Linked DNA regions of Homo sapiens: regions 1, 3, 4 and 5 are each linked to region 2. Evidence: promoter capture Hi-C in 16 types of primary human blood cells and fetal thymus (Javierre and others, 2016). All regions are on one chromosome and are shown on one strand. Each heading gives the region's core, a stretch centred on a gene start or on the middle of the fragment in contact. The rest is flanking DNA. Distances are from core to core; before and after follow the strand shown.

Region 1 (2,974 bases), core at 173-2,672, 290 kb before region 2:
AGTGCTTCCTTGCTGCTGGCCTCTTACCCAAGTACTGCCTGGAGCCGACTCTGGTGATGCGAGCGTGGGAGCCCCTCCTTTCAGCAACATCCAGCTTGCCTCAGCCTTCTGCACTGCTTTGGGGCAGGAGGAGTCCCCCACTAAAATTAAAACTAAACTGCTACTTCTGTCCATTCTCCCTGGCCGGTGTTCTTGCTGCTGTGTGGCTTCTGTTAGAAGTTCGGAAACGAATTTTTGGAGAGGAAAGTCAGACTAATCCTTCAAGTCTTTTGAGAAACAGGTCTTCTGCATTAGCTGAGGGGCAGGAGTTCTGGGCTTGCCATGTGGTGTCTGAGCCATCTCTCTCTCTCTCTCTCTCTCTCATCTCTCTTTGGCCAGGCGGGCAGGAAGACCTATGCCATGGTGTCCAGCCACTCAGCTGGTCATTCTCTGGCTTCAGAACTGGTGGAGTCCCATGATGGACATGAGGAGATCATTAAGGTAAGCTTAGTTCACCTCCAACTTTTCTCCCTGTCCTCTTCCTCCCTGCACGTATATGAGAAGGAGCAGTTGATGTTGTTGCCAAAGGGAGCTTGTGGTTTGATGGAAGGAACCAGACCTGAGCTGCTAGTTCCTGGCAATCTCCTAGAAATATCTTAATTAATACCAGGAGACTACAGTCTGCCTGTTAGCAACTTTGGTGCAGCCTGGCCCCAGGCAAGGGGATGGACTGGATGACCTTACTAGGGGCCTATCCACTGACCATGTTTTGCTGCTAGAGGTTGTGGAGACAGGTAGGAGGTGTGTTTATGGAACTTATGTTTTCCTATAATGGGTTCATCCTGATGGAACTTATTTATTTATTTATATATTTTTAGTTTTGTAGAGACAGTCTCGCCTTGTTCCCTGGGCTGGTCTCCAAATCCTGGGCTCGAGCAATCGTCCTGTCTCAGCCTCCCAAAATGCTGGTATTATAGGCGTGCACCAGCCCACCTGGCTGATGGAACTTATTTTTTAAAAAATAAAATGATTTTTGTTATTTCTCTCTCTCTTTTTTTTTATAAAACAGCTTTTTTAGATATAAATCCCATACCACATGATTGACTCAGTTACAGTTTTGGTCAGTGCATAACAAAACTGCATAACAACGTTTTGGTCAGTGATGGACTGCGTAGACAACAGTGGTCCCATAAGATTATTATACTCCATTTTTACTGTATTTTTTCTGGGTTTAGATACATTACCATTGTGTGACGATCACCTACAGTATTCAGTACAGTAACATGCTGTGCAGGTTTGTTTGTAGCCTAGGAGCAATAGGGTACACCATACAGCCTAGGGGTGTAGGAGGCCATGCCATCTAGGTTTGTGTGTGTACACTCTGTGATGTTTGTACAAGGATGAAATTGCCTAATGATGCATCCCTCAGAATGTATTCCTATGATTAAGTGATGCATGACTGTATATATGTGAGTGTTTATGCCAATACAGCTATATAGCATTGAGCTAAATTTATTGCATTAGGGTAAATTTCCAGAAGTAGAACTGATAGACCAAAAAGTAAATATATTTTTAGGTCTTCTGATCCGAATCACCAAATTCCACCCAGTAAATTGGTGGTAACAATTTACCCTCCCACCAGCACTATATGAAGCTGCCTATTTTTGTATAGTTAATTTAATTTGAGGTTTCTTAACTAAATGGTGTTCTTATTTCAGGTGTACTTGAAGGGGAGGTCTGGAGACAAGATGATTCACGAGAAGAATATTAACCAGCTGAAGAGTGAGGTCCAGTACATCCAGGAGGTGGGCACCCCTTACCTCTCACGCAGTGCCTAGGTCATTTCTCTAAATCTCACATTTTTTGTGACTGTCTTCTTTTGTGGATTCTGGTTTTTCCCCTTCTTTTTCCTTTATGTCTCTGAAATGCCACCATGCCCTCCCGTGTGTCAAATATATAACTTTTGACCATACCTGATCCATTAATCCACAAATACTTAAGTACTATGGGCCCAGCACTGTCCCAGCCACCTATCGAAAATTACCAGCCACTTTTCACAGCATTTCTTAACTCCCTTCCTGGCTCGTGTTTCTCGTTGGCACTTATGCCCATATAACATATTACACATTTTACTTATTTGTCTTTTGTGTCTTGTGTCTCCCCAACAAGAATGTCAGCTGTAGCTCCACTTGACCAAGGTCCCTCCCTCCATCCTGCAGCCAGTCGTTAGGACAGTGCCTGACTCGCAGTACAGGCCAGGGATGGGGCACAGAGTTGGGTGAGTTGGCATGCTCTCTTTCTCTACCCTAAAGCTCAAGTTTCTTCCCCTCCCCTCCCAGGCCAGGAACTGCCTACAGAAGCTCCGGGAGGATATAAGTAGCAAGCTTGACAGGAACCTAGGAGATTCTCTCCATCGACAGGAGATACAGGTAATAGGAAATGGTCCATGGTTGGGTCCCCACCGAGGAGGTGGGGTTGTGCCAGGCAGTCTCATTTACCAATTACCCAGTGTGTGCTAAATCTAGCATCCCTGCCAGGAATGGAGAAAATAGAGGTGATGCTGGCTTCTCTGGAGCACTCACAATCTGGTTAGGACTCTCCAGCCGATGAGCACTTACATTTACACATGTCAGCTTAAACATAAGTACACCTGCTCCTGAAACACTGTACAGAAATTGAACTTATATAAATTAAATATCATCAGTTGTTAGCAAACCTCTTATCTATAAGGATTCTGTGATCAAGCTTCTTATAATAATAGAATTTTGTAAAGCAGACAATCACCTGTAAATCCACACTTCTCATAAGCTGATCTTGCTTAGTTTGGGTGATACCTGTAGCGTAAATTGAAGTCCGTGCCCTAGCCTGTTATTAATCTTGTATATAGTTATGTCTAACCTGGGATGGGAAGTTCCTCAAGGTTAGGAGTTCACCCCACCCCACCCCACCTCGTGTCTGTATCCTCACCCTCCCATTCCCCCCAGGTCTGGGATGT
Region 2 (2,771 bases), core at 6-2,505:
GAACTGGGCAGGAAAAATCAGAATGACTAGACAGCATCCTGGAGGGGGGCTGCTGCCTGGGCTCGGGACCTCTAAACAGCTGTTCCTGGGTGCTGGGGCTTCTCAATCCCTTCTGCCAGAGTATCGATCCAAGGGAAAGGGCCCATATTCCTTGCAGGGGGGCTGCGGACCCCTATGGGTGACGGGGCATAAGGATGCTAAAGAGCAAGGGAAGGGCGGGCAGGGAGTGGGGCCAGAGATGATGGGCATGCTGCTCGATGTGGTGCCTTACCCTTGTTCTGCTTAAAACATGTGAGCAGTTCTTTAAAGTTGACAACTGCTCATATTAGCCTCACTGTACAGATGGGGAAACTGAGGGAATACGGCCAAGGTTGCCAAGCATGTGACTGTGAGAGCTGGTGGTCGCACTAGATGCTGTCTCCTCTGCAGGGCAGGGTCACAGTTGTTGAGGACCATTCTAGCAACCCCCACCTCAGGGGCTACTCCAGCTCTGCCCACTGCTGTGGGCCTGCCTGGGCAGGGTGGCTCCTTTGAAACACATTTGGGCCCCCACAGAGGTGTGGTGCCATGGCTGGGGCACAGACTATGTGCCCATCTGTGTGACGTAAGGAAGTCCTCTGTAGCGTCACCTGCTCATACACCAGTCACAACTGTAGACAGCATGTGAGCTGCTTGCCAATGCCACAGATGGGGTCCTCTGTCTGGGGATACCCCAGCTTTGCTGCAGTAGTCTGAGTCCCACAGGAGGAAAGTCATTTGTTGGTGGCCACACAAGACACAGAGCCAGATGCAGGTCTCCTGGTAGTTTTAGTTTTGAATGGGGGCAACTTGGTATCCCAGAGCACTTTCTCTTTGCCAAATCAAATAGCTCCTCCGAACACTGCCCACCTGCCCTGGCCATGGGCTGGGAAGAGGAGATTTGGGGTGCTCCTTAAGCCCTAGGCTCCTGGGAAAACACTGCCCATCTGGCTGAGCTGGGAACTCACCATGGAGTCTGTGGAGGATCCAAATGCTGAGGCAGGGTTGAGTCTGGGCAGGATACGGGGGGCCTCAAGAAGGCCTCTGTGGTGGCCAAGTCTTGCTGCCACCTGGAAGCATCTCCTTATCATGGCCAAGTGCAAGGATCCAGCCCTGCTTGGATGGAGGGTCTTGGCTGACTCCCAAGGAGTGCTTTCAGCTGCACTTGGGGCCGCTTCTCTCCCTTCTGTTGCAGGCTTTCTTTCAGAGAGCTAGGCGAGGCTGGGCTGGTGTGCTGCAACACCCACAGATGCTCGGCGCCTTTAGCTGGTCTAGGAGCCCCACCCAGTGCTTGGGGAGGGACAGATGCTGCTTGGGCATGAAAAGGCAGCAGGACTGGCTTGAGTTGCAAAAGGAGTAAACAAGTACATAAACAAATAGTATGGGGTATATAGAGCCTTGGAGAGCTGCCTGGGGGTTCTGAGGGAGAATCCAAGAATATTTCCAGAAGGATAAGGGAAGCCTGTCCCTTGATTGGAGGGTGCTGGTGGAGTGTTCTTGGTATGTGCTCTGCAGTGTATACCGGACTCTGAAAACTCTGGTATGATTTTGTGACTCAGAAAACCAACTCACAGGCCGGGTGCGGTGGCTCACGCCTGTAATCCCAGCACTTTGGGAGGCCGAGGCGGCGGATTACGAGGTTAGGAGATCGAGACCATCCTGGCTAACACGGTGAAACCCCGTCTCTACTAAAAAAAATACAAAAAATTAGCCGGGCGTGGTGGCGGGTGCCGGTAGTCCCAGCTACGCAGGGGGCTGAGGCAGGAGAATGGCGTGAACCTGGGAGGTGGAGCTTGCAGTGAGCTGAGATCTAGCCACCGCACTCCAGCCTGGGCGACTGAGCGAGACTCCGTCTCAAAAAAATAAAAATAAAAAAATAAAAAAAAAGAAAACCAACTCACAGCCTTAGACACCTCTTTTTTTTTTTTTTTTTTTTTTTTGGTGAGACGGAGTTTCAATCTTGTCGCCCAGGCTGGTGTGCAATGGCGTGATCTCGGCTCACTGCAACCTCCGCCTCCTGGGTTCAAGTGATTCTCCTGCCTCAGCCTCCTGAGTAGCTGGGATTACAGACACACACCACCACACCCAGCTAAATTTTGTATATTTTTTTTAGTAGAGATGGGGTTTTGCCATGTTAGCCAGGCTGGTCTTGAACTCCTGACCTCAGGTGACCTCCCAAAGTGCTGGGATTACAGGCGTGAGCCACCGCACCCGGCCAACACCTCTTCTTATATCCCGGACAAGGGTTAGCACAGGAGAGTTTCACCTGCTGGTCTCTGGCTGGGGATAGGAGTTGGAGGTGGGGGAGGGCTTGACAGGGAGGGCAGAAAATAATTTGGGAGGAAACAGCTTGGCAGGGATACTCTCATGTTTTGGGAACCCCGTGCCCAGGGAGTGGCTCATGTCAGCAGGCAGTGCTGGGAGTGAGGTGGGCGCGGCAGTGAGGCTTTGTTGAGTGGGAAGGGACACTCAGCCAACATCTGCAAGGCAGTGGGATTTGGTGGTGGTGTGTCTTCTATTGAATTTAAACTGCCAATTTTCAATTAAAAGTCTCAGTTTTAAATTGACTAAAATAAAAGCATGTTCTAAAGATCAGTCCTCGCGCAGTGGCTCAAGGCTGTAATCTCAGCATTTTGGGAGGCCGAGTGAGACCTTGTCTTAAAAAAAAAAAAATCAGAACTGTGCAAAGGTGGAATCATAACAGTGATGATGACGATAATAATAGTTGTGATGATTATGACATTTTGGCAGGT
Region 3 (3,231 bases), core at 485-2,984, 360 kb before region 2:
GTCCGACCAGTTTCTCCTATTATTAACATCTTACATTAGTGTGGTACATTTGTCACAGTTAATGAACCAGTAACGACACATTATTATTAACTGAAGACCATACTTTATCAGATTTCCTTAGTTTTAAATTTCGTATCCTTTTTCTATTCCAGGATCCCATCCAGGATACACCACATTATATTTATTCATAGTGTCTTCTTAGGCTCTTCTTGACTGTAGCAGTTGTTTCCGCTTTTTATCATCGTCATCCCACGTCAATTCACTGACTAATGGGAGCAAAACTCTATCTGAGCTAACCATGCACAGTATACAGAATCAGCAAATATTAATAGTTAAGTGTAGATATGTGAAGTCTATGTGGCCACAGCTCCTGGCTCATATCTCTCAATGCCCCTGTTACAGTCTTTTTTTTTTTCTTTTTCTTTTTCTTTTTTTTTTTTTTTTTGAGATGGAGTTTCACTTTTGTTGCCCAGGCTGGAGTGCAATGACGCAATCTTGGCTCACTGCAACCTCCGCCTCCTGGGTTCAAGTGATTCTCCTGCCTCAGCCTCCCAAGTAGCTGGGATTACAGACATACGTCACCACGCCCGGCTAATTTTGTATTTTTAGTAGAGACGGGGTTTCTCCATGTTGGTCAGGCTGGTCTTGAACTCCCGACCTCAGGTGATCCACCTGCCTTGGCCTCCCAAAGTGCTGGGATTACAGGCGTGAGCCACCGTGCCCGGCCTACAGTCTTTTGTTATAATGTTAGGACACTTTAGGATTCAGAGGCCGGCCTCAGAAAGCAGACTTTCTTGCTATCTGACTTTCTCCCGCTCTTATTTATTTATTCATTTATTTATGTTTTGAGATAATGTCTCACTCTGTTGCCCAGGTTGAAGTGCATTGGTGTAATCACTGCTCACTGCAGCTTTGATCTCCTGTACTCAATCAATCCTCCCACCTCAGGCTCCTGAGTAGCTGGGACTACAAGTGTGCACCACCATGTCCGGCTAATTTTTTATTTTTTGTAGAGACACTCTCCCTATGTTGCCCAGGCTGGTCTTAAACTCATGAGCTCAAGCAATCCACCTGCTTCGGCCTTCCAAAGTGTGGGAATTACAGGCATGAGCCACCACACCGGGCCTTCCTGTTCTCATTGCACCTGCCAGATGCAGGACTCTAATCTGATTGTGAGTCATAAGACCCTGATTGCAGAGAGGGTCCTACCCCGTAGCCTGGAGGAAGGAAGGCTGCATAGAGAGACCAAGAAGAATCTAACAGACATGCATCTCTCCATTCACATCCTCTGTCATATCCTTTCTAATAAGCTGGTAAACGAAGTGTCTCCCTTAGTTCTGTGAGCTGCTCTAGCAAATGAATTGAGTCCAAAGAGGGGGCTGTAGGAGCCCCAACTTGAATCTGCTGGGTCAGAAATTCTGGAGTCTTGGGTTTTGACTGGTGTCTGAATGGGGTGGGTGGGGGCAGTTTTGGGGTTTGAGCCCTCAACCTGTGGCCTCTTGGTAGATGGTGTCAGAATCGAATTAGAGGACACCCAGCTGGTGTCTGCTGCAGAACTGATTGCTTGTTTGCTGGTGGGGAGAAATCCTCCATATTTGGTCACAGGAGTCTTCTGTCTGTGTTGATTGTTACTGTTGAGTGAGATAACAGGAACAAACACTCTGAGTTTGTGTGTTTTCCCACACACAAGATCCCTATCTCCATTCTCCCTCCTGCTTCAGTCTTCCTTCTCTGAGGTTCTCAGATGCCCTCCCACCTCCTATATCCCCTCCAGTGTCCTGCACTTTCCTTCTTTGCCCTCTGACTTGAACCTAACAATGGTAAGTTTTCTTTGAAGTCTGATGCTACTTTCTAGCCTTGCTTGCCAAAGGTTGAGATTACCCCCACCTATGGCCATAAACTTGTTTTGTATCTATTAATTTATTTAAATTTCTTTCCTATTTAGGGTAGCTGGCAGGTATTATTAGTACCGAGTCTCCAGTGCAACTCTAAGCAAGAAGTTGCTCCTTCTAATACTGGGGACTGCAGGCCGGGCGCGGTGGCTCACGCCTGTAATCCCAACACTTTGGGAGGCCAAGGCGGGCAGATCACAAGGTCAGGAGAATGAGACCATCCTGCTAACACGGTGAAACCCCGTCTCTACTAAAAATACAAAAAATTAGCCAGGCGTGGTGGTGGGTGCCTGTAGTCCCAGCTACTCAGGAGGCTGAGGCAGGAGGATGGTGTGAACCCGGGAGGTGGAGCTTGCAGTGAGCCGAGATCACGCCACTGCACTCCAGCCTGGGCAACAGAGTGAGACTGCGTCTCAAAAATATATATATATATTGGGGGCTGCAAAAAGTAAAGACAGGGAATTTGAGAAGGAGTGCTGGTATACGGGGGAAGTTACTTTGCTTGGTTTGTCTGTGTCCTAAGTAGAGATGAGACGTACAAGTGCAAAAGTTCTGGAGAAAGTTAAATACTGATTCAGTACATGGATGAGAGGTCGGTGTTTAAAATGGAGATTTGAAAGTTGTCTGCTTTTGGAGGTGGCAGGAGAAAGCATGAGAGTGAATGAGCCACTGAAGGGGAAGAGTGGAGGGCAGAGGAAAGGAAAGAGCTTTTTCACAGCTATGGGGAATAGCTGAGAAAGGAAAAAAGTACCCACAGGGACAGGGGAGGGCTAGAGCTGTAGAAAATAATAGAGCAGTGGTATAGAAATCCAAGGAGAAAAGAGTGTGAAAAAATAGGGAGCAGAAGCACAAGAGACATCCGGTAGAAGGAGGACTCAGAAAAGCCTTCAGTTTCCAAGCTCAACTGCAGGTGAGGGACAAGGGAACTTGGAATTACTGCATATAAACTGCTTGAAGATGGTGAATAGAAAGGAAAGAAATATGGCCAGGTGCGGTGACTCACACCTGTAATTCCGGCACTTTGGGAGGCTGAGGCGGGCAGATCTCCTGAGGTCAGGAGTTCAAGACCAGCCTGGACAACATGATGAAACATCATCTCTACCAAAAATACAAAAGTTAGCCGGGTGTGATGGCACACACCTGTAGTCCCAGCTACTTGGGAGGCTGAGGTAGGAGAATCTCTTGAACCCAGGAGGTGGGCCAAGATTGCGCCACTGCACTCCAGCCTGGGCGACGGAGCAAGACTCTGTCTCAAAAAAAAAAAAAAAAAAAAAAAAAAAAAGCAGAGCAGCTACAAGTTACAAGTTGCAAAAGGGTTAGGATAAGGATAAGATTCTTC
Region 4 (2,869 bases), core at 187-2,686, 320 kb before region 2:
GCCTGATCTTTAGGGAACACTTTCTCCTGATAGAGAGCAAAGAGTGTTGCAGAAATTCTGAAATGTGAATGACGTCACTCTCCCTCATTCTTTGAATCTGCCCTGGATCCTGCCCAGTCTAATGGTGGAGCTCATGGCTGAGAGGAGTCCTTGGGGACAGTAGGGGGCCAAGTTAGGATTCCCTTAGAAATGGGGACACTCATAGACATTCTTCTACCTCACCTTAGGGAGAAGACAGTTCTGCAGTCTACCAATCGAAAACTGGAGCGGAAAGTTAAAGAACTATCCATCCAGATTGAAGACGAGCGGCAGCATGTCAATGACCAGAAAGACCAGGTGAGGACATGGCACCCTGGAGCCAAGCAACCTGGGGCAGGTATATATTATATGTTTTCCTGAAAGCCAAGGGAGGCCCTTATCTCCTATAGGTCCTCCAAACTTAGACTTTCCTTGTATAAGGACAGAGATTAGATTGAAAAGACTAGACTAGAGAAGTCATGGTAAGCGTATATATTGAGTGCTTATGATGTGCTAGGTTCTGTAAGTATTACACATGTGTTAATACATTTAATCCCTAAGACAACCATGTGAGGTTAAGGAACTTGCCCAAGGCCACATTTTTCCAGCGGCAATTATACCTTGTCAAGATTGTTATGGGGGAGGGTCCCAGGCCATGGTAGTAGATGCTATTCAGATGTGTGGACTTGGTATCCTGCCCAGCTAAGCCTGAGGGTGAAGGCTTTGAAGCGTCAGGTGGATGAAGCAGAAGAGGAAATTGAGCGACTGGACGGCCTGAGGAAGAAGGCCCAGCGTGAGGTGGAGGAGCAGCATGAGGTCAATGAACAGCTCCAGGCCCGGATCAAGTCTCTGGAGAAGGACTCCTGGTATGGGCTACCCTTTTGCCCTTGCTCCATAGGGACACTAGAGCAGGGAGGGAATGGTCTCTCCTGTGCTGGATAAGGAGGAGAATCTCTAACATGGTACTGTGTAGTCACTTGTTTCTGGTTGGAAGCCAGTATATTTATTTATTAGTATCTCAGCCACCATCCTGTACCTCCCCAAATCTGATTAGTTGGGGATTTTGTGAATAAACTTTAGGCCTTAGAAGAATTGGGGTTTCCTTTGTACAAAAAGGGTGGCTGTCTTAATATTTCTATTTTCCCCTCCCCAACCATTATTCTTCTCTCTGAGTCAGGCGCAAAGCTTCCCGCTCAGCTGCTGAGTCAGCTCTCAAAAACGAAGGGCTGAGCTCAGATGAGGAATTCGACAGTGTCTACGATCCCTCGTCCATTGCATCACTGCTTACGGAGAGCAACCTACAGACCAGCTCCTGTTAGCTCGTGGTCCTCAAGGACTCAGAAACCAGGCTCGAGGCCTATCCCAGCAAGTGCTGCTCTGCTCTGCCCACCCTGGGTTCTGCATTCCTATGGGTGACCCAATTATTCAGACCTAAGACAGGGAGGGGTCAGAGTGATGGTGATAAAAAAAAAAAATCATCAGCAATAAGCTGATAGATGGACTTTCCACTGTAGGAGTGGACATTTCAAGCCAACTGAGCCTTTTCCTCAAGTGCCGACACCTCCCTCATCTCTCTTATAGTGGAAGGATGGTCAGCATTAGGCTGATGGGGACTGAGAAGGATAGGAAGGGATAGAAATTGCCATGTGTATAAAGCTTTATTCTTTAGCCCTTAACCCTAAGGCTCAGGGAAATACCCTATGTTATTGTGCTCCCTGGATTCCTGCAACTCATTTTCCTTCCACTCTGGAGCAGGGTGAGGGGAATGTTATGGGTAACAGACATGCAGGCATGGCTCTACCCATTTCTTTGCACAAGTATGGGGCCCATGTGGTAGTCCCCATACCCCTCCAGTTCCTATATTTTTGTCTTCTTCCTTTCCCCTCTTTGCCATTCCTACCTTGCATTTTTCCTGTCAGTGCCTTAGCCAAGGCAAGGAGATAAGGATGCTCTTCTTGCTTTTTATATCTGCACATTCATACCTCTCCAAAGACCAGCTTTTCCCCAGCCAGGGCCCTCAGCCTTCCCTGCTGCCCCAGTGATTGATTGAGAGAGCTGTTGGGGTTTCTCTGCCAATGACCCCTGGGAGAGGGACTTTGGTAGGGTCATGATAAAGTGGCGGGGGTCTGGTCCTGCTCAGGGTTTTCATCCTTCCTCCTCTCCCTCCTCTGTGACTGTGGATATGGTTATAAGGTGGTTGCACCTGGGAGCCCTGACAACTGGCTGCACAAATTCCAAAAGTAAAGGTGTCAGTCCCTGTGGCCTTCCTTGGGGCTTCTCTGACCACATGTGCCCAACTTCAATAAGAGAACCAAGGGACCCTCATTTTCTGAGGTGCTTGGCTCTGATTCAGGGCTTTGCAAGGGGTTAGAAGCTGACTGTAAAAATGGGAAGAGGCAACGGAAGACATTTATTTCTCCTTTGGATTTTGGGGAGAACCAAGCCCTGGTAGGGAAGAGGTAAGGGGGATGATTCACCTCCATATTTCCTAAGCAGGTTGTATAGGGAGCCGGTGGCAGGAGGAAGGCTGTTTTCACAAATGACTTGTAATGTCGTGATTAAAAAAATTCCTATATTCTTCTGCAAATCAAACGTTCTTTCCCAATCCAATCCAGCCTTGGTTTTATTTTAAATTAAATATTAAAATTACACATTTATATTGAAATCCTTGGTTTGTCTTCTCATTCTTTTTCTTGGCATATTTGGAGGTCCAGATTTTATGAAGTCATATTAACTGTACAGCTTAGGAGCCGAAGCTGGAGTTTTCTTCACCTGACTTTTCAGAGGCCCTTTAGAACAGAGCAGATGGGACCTACGAAACCTGGAGATGTTTATAGCAGCCCCATTCTCT
Region 5 (3,166 bases), core at 443-2,942, 270 kb before region 2:
AGCTGCTAACAATGATGAGATGACCACCCCCCTGGCCCCACCTTCAACGGACATGTCATCATGGTGCAAGCCACATGCCATGGCTGCACACGGCTAATTCTGACCCTCCAGGCTTTGCAAAGGAGCTGGCAGTGGTGCTGGGCTGTGAAGGAGGAGGAGGCATTCATACAGATGGAGCCTTTTCCAGGGCTAGATTACGTAACGAGTTGCCTTCCTAGTCTAATTTCCACTTTGCCACAGGGCCCTACCTGTCTGTTGACTACCTGAAGATCACTTTGCGAACGCTCTGTGAAGATCCCCTGTAGTGAGGGAGAAAAATGGGAGAAAGGGTTATCTTTAGAGAGTTTGCAGTCTATAGTCAGAGATAAAATGTGTATTTTTAAAAAGACCAAAGAATGCTTTATAGAATAGCGTATCAACAAAGGCAAGTGAGTATCTCAACTGAGGACAAAAAATTATATATAGGGGCCAGGTGCAGTGGCTCATGCCTGTAATCCCAGCACTTAGGGAGGTTGAGGCGGTAGGATTGCTCGAGGCCAGGAGTTCAAGACCTAGGCAACATAGTGAGACTTTGTCTCTGAAAAAGAAAAAATTTTTTTAATTAACCAGATGTGGTGGCATGCATCTGTAGTCCAGTTACTTGGGAGACTTAAAGGAGAGGATCACTTGAACCCAGGAGGTCGAGGCTGCAGTGAGCTATAATCACGCCACTGCACTCCAGCCTGGGCAACAGAGTGAGACCCTATCTCAAAAAAAAAAAAAAAAAAAAAAGAACTGTATGTAGAGGACATATAGGAAACCATCAGTCTGTCAGTGTTGTACAGAGTTATGGAGGAGCAGGTATTGGAGGATAAGCGCAATCTATGGTAATGAAGATGAGGCAAGTGGGTATCCAGGTGGTGGCACGCATGGTGGGGGTAGAGGCAACAGCAGCATAAACACAGGCAGAGAGACCAGAATGCACTAGCTGAACGTGGCACCCGGGAAGCCAGAAAAAGGCCAACTCTAACCCCTAAGCTTGTGTTACAGAATTTAGAGATGCATGACCGGATGGAACACCTGATAGAAAAACAAATCAGTCATGGCAACTTCAGCACCCAGGCCCGGGCCAAGACAGAGAACCCGGGCAGGTGAGTGAGCGTGTGTAGATAGAATGGGGCCAGGGAGGAGGGGAGAAGGAGGGACAGAGCTCTGTAGAACCTTTAGTGCTAAGGCAAGAACAAGGCTCCTTTAAATCCAACTTTCCTCCCTCAGTCTGACCCACTGTTTGCCGGAACCATTTTCTAGCCCAATTAGAGTAGAACCTGTTAACACAAGCCCAGGGAGGTCCATGAATGGCTTCTAGAGATGTATGAACCACCTGAAATGGTAGGAAAAATTTAGTTATAATGTTTGCATATTTCTAGGGAGAGGGTATTTTGCCTCTAAGAGATTCAGAAAAGGACCCATGATCTTGACAAAATCGAGAATCACAGCTATATCCACTTCTCAGTTGTTTAACTGCCCCTCTCTTTTCTTCACCCTTGCTACAAGACACATGTATCATGCCCCAAATCTTCCCCTAGTTGTCACTGATAATTACTGTTTTAAAGCACTTGGAACCCAAGTGATCAGCCAGCACTGCAGTGTAAGATTCCAGAGGCCAATGTGAAGATTCCAGGGGCTCTGTGAAGGGTGGGCCACAACACAGCTGTTCCCAGCACAACTCAGTGTTTCCAACCTTCTTTTCAGTATTAGGATATCCAAGCCGCCTAGCCCGAAGCCCATGCCTGTCATCCGAGTGGTGGAAACCTGAGCTGCCTGGAGATGGTTGCTGCCATTGCTGCTGCCTCTGCCTCGGAGAAGCCCACTGCCCCTGTTGGCTGTTAACACTGCCTTTGACTTCCTGACTGTCCCCTGGCTGCACCCAGGACTTCGGGCTCCTGTGTCTCACCATTCCCAAGCCCCTGGCCACTCTAAGCTGGGCAGACGGAGCACGAGCACCTATTCAAGGCACTGCAGCCCTTTGGAAGACATTGTCCTGCAAGCAGGAGCCAGGGCAATATCTATATTCCTACAGTGACTATTTTTCTCTGTAGAGAGCCTCCCTTCTGTTGTAGACTGGACTCTGGCTGTGCCATAAGCCAGGCCTTCATCAGATTGGGAGAGGTGACAAGATTTGCCTCAGCCCTAAAAGCTGGAGACACAGATGTCCAGAGTGATTGGAGAATGTCCTGGGGGAATGAAGTTCCTTCCACAAACACAGCTCAGTTCTTAGCAACAAACTGTTTGTTTTTCTACTTGCTCCATCTGCAGCCTACGCTGCCCTGGCCTCCTGCAGACAGATAGTGGGGTTACCTGGCAAGGCCTGGTGAGAGCCAGTGAACCTAAGCTTTGACTGGGTGGCCTTGTCTTTCTGGGGAGGAGGGAATGTACATTCAGGGAGTAGCCTTTTGCGGAAAAATTCTCTAGGGCTACAGACAGTCATGTGTGACTTCTCTCTGCTGTGAAAACTCCCAGAGTCTCTTTAGGGATTTTCCCTAAGGTGTACCACCAGGCACACCTCAGTCTTCTTGACCCAGAGCCTGAAAACTGTTTTCACTGGGTTCCACCAGTCCCAGCAAAATCCTCTTTGTATTTATTTTGCTAAGTTATTGGTGGTTTTGCTTACATCTCATGATTGATATAATACCAAAGTTCTATAGCCTTCTCTTGCAGTATTTGGATTTGCTTGAAACCGGGAAAACTGTTCCCATTAGGCTTGTTAATGTCAGAGTGACACTATTATGAATCTTTCTCTCCCTTTCCTCTGCCTGTTTCTTCTCTCTTTCTCCTTCAAACTTGCTCTGCAGCTAAGGAAGGTGAGTCTACTTTCCCTGAGGCTTTGGGGTCAGAGTATATGTTGTTTGGAGAAAGAGGGCAATCAGGACTCTTCTGGGACCCAGATGAGTTCTTCACTAGCCCTTCTGAACCCCTTGCTCCATAATTGGTCTTTTATCCTGGCTCTGAATGACCCTGCAGGTCATCATGGTTTTCTTTTTTTATTGTTTTTTTTTTTTTCTGAGACAGAGTCTCACTCTGTCACCCAGGCTGGAGTGCAGTGGCGCGATCTCAGCTCACTGCAACCTCTGCCTCCCGGATTTAAGCGATTCTTCTGCCTCAGCCTCCCGAGTAGCTGGGACTACAG

Evidence for each region. The method cuts DNA at HindIII sites, captures the fragments that hold promoters and counts their contacts. A CHiCAGO score of 5 or more calls a contact.
Region 1: a contact is called between a fragment that was not itself captured here and the fragment with the promoter of THEM5 in region 2, in 14 of 17 cell types (M2 macrophages, total CD4 T cells, naive CD8 T cells and 11 more). The highest score is 9.8, in M2 macrophages.
Region 3: a fragment that was not itself captured here is called in contact with the fragment with the promoter of THEM5 in region 2 in 6 of 17 cell types (M2 macrophages, M1 macrophages, M0 macrophages and 3 more); the score reaches 11.7 in M2 macrophages.
Region 4: a fragment that was not itself captured here is called in contact with the fragment with the promoter of THEM5 in region 2 in 10 of 17 cell types (M0 macrophages, M2 macrophages, M1 macrophages and 7 more); the score reaches 13.2 in M0 macrophages.
Region 5: a fragment that was not itself captured here is called in contact with the fragment with the promoter of THEM5 in region 2 in 13 of 17 cell types (M2 macrophages, naive CD8 T cells, activated CD4 T cells and 10 more); the score reaches 14.4 in M2 macrophages.

What each region holds. Positions count from the first base shown.
Region 1 is chr1:151,562,207-151,565,180 of GRCh38, forward strand. It overlaps TUFT1 (tuftelin 1), which reads left to right. Exons shown (of 13, transcript NM_020127.3): 3 at 379-480; 4 at 1,698-1,784; 5 at 2,319-2,408. Among named protein-coding and RNA genes, the nearest start is that of MIR554, 18 kb to the left of the region's middle. The HindIII fragment of the contact is 1,878 bases long and covers 484-2,361 here.
Region 2 is chr1:151,852,457-151,855,227 of GRCh38, forward strand. It overlaps THEM5 (thioesterase superfamily member 5), which reads right to left and starts at 1,256. Exons shown (of 6, transcript NM_182578.4): 1 at 987-1,256; 2 at 1-3. The coding sequence starts at 1,109. The HindIII fragment of the contact is 9,012 bases long and covers 1-2,771 here.
Region 3 is chr1:151,490,690-151,493,920 of GRCh38, forward strand. No RefSeq gene overlaps it. Among named protein-coding and RNA genes, the nearest start is that of CGN, 19 kb to the right of the region's middle. The HindIII fragment of the contact is 6,284 bases long and covers 1-3,231 here.
Region 4 is chr1:151,536,010-151,538,878 of GRCh38, forward strand. It overlaps CGN (cingulin), which reads left to right. Exons shown (of 21, transcript NM_020770.3): 19 at 228-336; 20 at 721-884; 21 at 1,196-2,683. The coding sequence ends at 1,337. Among named protein-coding and RNA genes, the nearest start is that of TUFT1, 2.9 kb to the right of the region's middle. The HindIII fragment of the contact is 471 bases long and covers 1,202-1,672 here.
Region 5 is chr1:151,579,913-151,583,078 of GRCh38, forward strand. It overlaps TUFT1 (tuftelin 1), which reads left to right. Exons shown (of 13, transcript NM_020127.3): 12 at 1,030-1,130; 13 at 1,732-3,166. The coding sequence ends at 1,795. Among named protein-coding and RNA genes, the nearest start is that of SNX27, 31 kb to the right of the region's middle. The HindIII fragment of the contact is 1,354 bases long and covers 1,016-2,369 here.